2 separate regions of the Homo sapiens genome follow, and region 1 is linked to region 2. Evidence: promoter capture Hi-C in 16 types of primary human blood cells and fetal thymus (Javierre and others, 2016). All regions are on one chromosome and are shown on one strand. The core of a region is centred on a gene start or on the middle of the fragment in contact, and the rest is flanking DNA. Distances in the headings are between cores, read along the strand shown.

The links. Contacts are between HindIII fragments. The CHiCAGO score rates a contact against its expected background, and 5 or more counts as called.
Region 1: a fragment that was not itself captured here is called in contact with the fragment with the promoter of DAB2 in region 2 in 3 of 17 cell types (M1 macrophages, M2 macrophages and M0 macrophages); the score reaches 8.1 in M1 macrophages.

The regions. Positions count from the first base shown.
Region 1 is chr5:39,565,618-39,568,442 of GRCh38, reverse strand. No RefSeq gene overlaps it. Among named protein-coding and RNA genes, the nearest start is that of LINC02104, 47 kb to the right of the region's middle. The HindIII fragment of the contact is 354 bases long and covers 1,326-1,679 here.
Region 2 is chr5:39,423,654-39,426,500 of GRCh38, reverse strand. DAB2 (DAB adaptor protein 2) reads left to right here and starts at 1,521. Exons shown (of 15, transcript NM_001343.4): 1 at 1,521-1,697. The HindIII fragment of the contact is 7,828 bases long and covers 1-2,659 here.

The DNA of each region.
Region 1 (2,825 bases), core at 253-2,752, 140 kb before region 2:
AGAGAAGAGGGTCCAGGCAGAAGGAGCAGCGTGTGCAAAGGCCAGCAGCACTGAATAGCATGAAGTGTTTGTGTAACTGGCAGCAGAATGGTTTAGTTGGAATGTAAGCCATAGGCAAGGAAATAAAGCTGGCCAATTAGGCAAGATTTAGATCTGATCACATGGGGCTTCAGTGTGATGTATTCTCAGAGGTTTGGAGGTTTTATCCTATGGATGACACCAACTAACTGAAAGATTCTAGGCTTGTGATGTGTGAGTGCTGGTGGTGGTGGCATAGGTTGCTGTAGCAAGGCTAAGAAACTGAAAACAGAAATCCACTATATTATTTTCCACAAGAGAGTCACTCCCCTTAATTTTAACATAAAGCAGTTAGGGCCATCTCAGAGGAACTCATGCAGGCAGAGGGCATTAAGTGAAAAGAGCAAGTTACCTGTAACAGCCCACACATTTCCCTCCGAGGTACTAAACATAGAAGAGAATGTTTTCTACTTAATTTGCTATTGCTACATTCCTTCCTCTACCTTATTTCAAGTAATTTAGAGCATCTCAGTTGTCTCCTTTTTCAAGCTACTTGTCTGTGGTGCAATCAAAACACATTTCTCAGTATTTATCTGCACAATTCATGGTTTCAATCAAGTGTTGACTTCTTTGATACAAGTAAGTTGATAACCTTGGAAACCTTTGCACTGATTGTAAATAGGGAGCTGAAGTCTCTTTACCACTAACAGGTCAGTACTGTTTGTTTCACACTAATAAATGTACATGTACATATAGATATATATGTGTATCTATATATACATGCATACATATATATAGATATGTATGTATATATACAGGTATATATACATACACAGACATATATACACATATATATTGACTTAATTTTTAAACTTTACTCCTACAAATTTAAGGGAAATACTGTTAATGTTTTAAATTTTATCCTGTGCATTAGCAATACCTGATCGACAGAGTTGTTTTAAGGCTTAAATAATAATAACATATAATGTACTTAACACAGCCTAACCAAAGCAGACACTTGCTCATAACTCCACCCTCCTCACTTCTAGCAGATTAGAAATGGACATCATAAATTTCATACTATATTTGACTGGACAGTATCAGGCAAAAAATAGAAGTCTACTTCAAACTATCTTAAATAAAAAAGGAACTTTTTTGGCTTTTGTAAAAGGAAGTTCAGAAATGGCTAAAGCCAGGTCCTGGATTGGATTAAATATATCAAATCTTTCATTCTCCTCCCTCCTCTTCTTTCTTTTCTTCCTTCCTTCCTCTTCCTTCCTCAGTACTGGCTAGATACTCAGGAAGCTTATCCTCAAGAGTGGCTAGGATGGCTGCCAGCAGCTCTAGACTTAAACTTCACCAGCTAAGCAATTTCAAAATAGAAAACATTTCTTTCCAATAGCTTCATCAAGAATATCCCAAAAGGCTGGCATAACCTAAAAGAAATAGAAATCCTGAAAATCATTAGAAAATTATAATCACAATGGGTACATTATGCCTAGAATACTGCATGGAATTCTGGTAAATTCAAATCAGGAAAAAGAAAGCTGACAAATATTCAACTAAAGGCAATTACTCTGACCCAGAGTATAAAGAAGTTTCCATATTGGGCCATGAAATAAAGATTTGACTCAAACCCAGAAAAATAAGGGCCTGAAGCTTGCACATAACAAGCCTGGGCATAGGAGAATAAATAAGGAAAAAAAAAAAAAAGGCATCTTAGCCTCTTGGGAATATGACCTGGCAAATTGGTAGTGTGTTTGTAAGAAGAAAATGTGTTCTTATTGTTCATCTCCCACTTATGAGTGAGAAAATGTGGTGTTTTGTTTTCTACACATACCGGGGCCTGTCGGGGAGTGGGGGGCAAAGGGAGGGAGAGCATTAGGACAAATACCTAATACATGTGGGCTTAAAACCTAGATGACAGATTGATAGGTGCAGCAAACCACCACAGCACATGCATATCTACGTAACAAGCCTGCACATTCTGCACATGTATCCCAGAACTTAAAGTAAAACAAAAAATAAAAAAAGAATATTCAGTCAAATTTGTCTATCTGCACAAAAAAATAAAAATAAAAATAAGTACATTTTTTAAAAAAGAAAATGTGTGCCTTCCTCCAGACAGACATAGCCGTGTTCCAGAGAGAGGGCTCAGCCAGGAGACTTGGGATGGACTTCAGCCTTTCATTGCGCCCTTGTTCAGCCACCTTTGGAGAGGCACTACCTACATAAACATAGCCAGCTGCTCTGGCTAAGAGAACATACAACACATCATCCGGTACTTGCTTTATGAATTAGTGAGTTTAAATACAAACCAATTTTCATTGCCAAACCCTTGATTATTAGAACTAGGTGAGCATACATTGTTATAAATATATGTAAGTTTCTGGCAAATTTTTACTTTCCACAACAGATGGGAGTAAACTTGCAGAATATATTTTCTTGATATGGTACATGCTAACATATTAAATAGTTTGAAAAGAATTAAGATTAATAAACTCAAGCAGCTACAGGGGTATGTATCTAGTTTGACATAAAATGGGTTATTATGTTTTTGCATATGAACATAACTTCATAAACTCACCAAAAGTTGAGTGGGAGTCCAATGTAACTCACCTGTGATGACAGATGACATCACAGTGATCAGATCCTTCTATACATTTTTTGGTATTGTCATCAGGACCATTGCTTTGACCCATTGTATCCAAAGTGAGTTATTTATACCCCTGTAAGTACCTAGAGGATTACTGGTGGTACACAGAAGGGGTGGAGGTAGTCTATGACTTGCAGGCACTTGGGCCAGG
Region 2 (2,847 bases), core at 272-2,771:
CTAGGACTAAAATTTGTATACTTCCTGTCATTCACACAAAGTCATTTTTTAAAATAGCAAATTACCTCTGAGGAATATTGAAAACTGCCAGCATGGCCCTCCCTGCCTCCACACCCCTAGGTGTGTCAGGGGATGAGAAATAGTAGAGGCTGGGGAAGTAGAATTCTGGGCCAGCTGTGCTGCTCTGCACCCCTCAGTCTCCCCGAACAACGGTTGTTTCAAGCCTGACCTACTTGAGAGCAGACATTGCCACTCACATTGAGCTACCCCAAATTACACAGTGGCTTTGCAGTCGAGGCTAGGCACGGACCACAAAATATATCCTTGATGTCCCACGAGCCCTATTTGAACCCTCAGTTTCCAGAGGTAAAATGCAAATCCACTGTGTTGCTTACTCGATAAAATCAATAACCCCCTCCCATCCGAGATACAATTTAGCATTTTCACATTTACTACGTGCTGCCTCTGACTTTAAACAATTAAATTTTTTTCTTAAAAAAAGGGAAAAGAGACACGTCTTTCACAAGAGTAATTTCAGAATTCTCCAAAAAGCAACAGAGCTTCTGTGGATGTTTTACAATAATTCTTGATTTTAAAATATGGAGAAAATGAATTCTCAGCTTGTTAACACTCATTAGGATTTGCTGCGGAGTACCTTCTACCGCTCAGCACTCTACGTTAACATTTTTAAATATTTTATTTCTTGCAGTTCATGTTTTTCCTAGAGTTATAGGAAGTGCTATGGAAATTCATGCAGATAAAGTCATGTTATGTGTCTACATATAGGTGTATATACACTGTAAGGGAAGCCTGTATAGAATCTCTGATTGTATCAGAATTATAACTTATTTGATAGGCTACATAGACGTGAACATGTTTTGCTCATATCGATTTCAGAGAGAATATTATTTTTATATCCATATATATGATTATATTTCATAGGTAAATACAGTATGTTTCACATATGCACACATAGATTTCCCACTAACTTAAGCGCATTTGCATCTGCAATGAGGGAGACACTAATTTCTTCTAAGGGGAGCAAATCCAATCGCGCGATCAACTTTAGAAACTGCAGATCTGCGCAGGAACCGTTGTCCCTTGTCAGAAAAGTCAGGAGTAAAGGCAGTCCTTTGTTCAAAGGGCCCCAACGGGTTGGTTAGGATGACTCCGTGTGCCACATCACTCGCAGTGGCAATCCAGGGAACGGATCTGTGAAACGAAGCTCGGTGGATCCCACCCCTTTCCTCCAGAGCTTCCCTTTCCTGTCCTTATTTGCACCCGCCCCCCGCCCGCGTCGGTCTGGGGCTTTTGACTTCTCCCCGAACACATTTCCCCTCCCGTCGCTGGGTCCCTGCGATCGCCCCCAGCTGGTGGGGCTCGCGGAGCTCAGGGGAGCGGGGTCCTCTGCGCCGCTGCAGCGCGAGTTAATAAACAGTTAAGTTTGGAAGACTCTGCAGACACGTTGAGGGGGAGTTACCAAGCCCAGGCAGCAAAAACATCCTGGCACATTCCTGGGGAGTCCTCAGCTGCCAGCATCTGATTAGAACCATATCTCTCGCCGGGAGTGGCCGCGCGGCTCCGAAGCTCCCGGCCGGCGGCTATTTAAGCGAGGCCCGCCGCATCCGCTGCGCTGTAGCCTGGAGGCTCCGGGCGCGGGGAAGTCATGCTCGCTTCACGGAGGCAATAGCTAGCCGGTGAGTAGCTTCGAAACCCTTCTTCCCTCTGGCTCCATTTTTTTTTTAAAGATCTCCTTCTCTCCTTTGCTCCCCCTCTCTCACCCCCCCGCCCCCCGCTACCCTTCTTTGAGTACAGACCTTGGGCTGTGGGGAATCTTAGAAATGAGACCCTGTGCTTGGGGAAACCAGCAGTTTTGTGGCCTGACATCTGAGGAATGCTTCCGCGGAATGTATTTACCTTTCGAATCCGACTCCAGATGCCCAGCTTGTGACATTTAACAAACGCCTCCTTTTGTGTCGTGTGTGTGTGTGTGTGTGTGTGTGTGTGTGTGTGTGTGTGTGTGTGTGTGTAAAAGGTCTGCGGGCAGCCCTCCTAGGACACTGAGGTGGCTGCTGACCGCCTAATTAACTCCTCGAAGGGTGTTTATTTTTGCTGTGTGACAAAGGCTGGGGACCTGGCTTGTGCCCATAAGGAGCTTTTTCCTGGTGACTGACAACATATGGCATTAAAATGTGAACTTTTGTCTTACACCGGCATTCCTAAGGAAGTATCTACCCAAGGGACTTAAGAAACTTGTTTTATATCCCCCGGCGCAGGGAGCATGGTTTATATGGTGCTTGCCTGCCTGTTGTAAGCTGGTTAAAAAGATTAAGTAAGAATTCTAAAAAAGGGGGGAAAAATGAATGGGTTAAAACCGTGGAGCCTCAGTCAACATAGCGGTTTTCATAGCATAGAGCTGACTCTGTTATTTGTTTCTGCTGTCTTTCCCTCTTGACTTAATTCTGAGCCTGGAATTCTGGTCCGCAGACAGTTTCAGCAGGGAGCTGAGTCCAAAGGGAAATTCAACTGGATTAAAAACACTTAAGGAATCTGGGTGTTATCTCCACCCCAACCACCCCCCACCTTTTCCCCTTTCTTTTTAGTTTTTGTTTGGAAGGAAGAGAGCCGCTCTGTAAACCGAGAAGAGCAGAAACAAGCTTCCAGACACATGGAAAGACTTAAAAATTATGGAGGGGCGACTTCACGAATAGTAAATGTTGCTATTGCTCTATAAAGTGACTTCATGAAAAAATTTCTGGCCTTAGTCAGGCAAAGCAGGGGCATGGGGGAGAAGGAGGTAAGATATAACTAATGCAAACAGAAGTAATGGGAGTGGAAAGCAGGCAT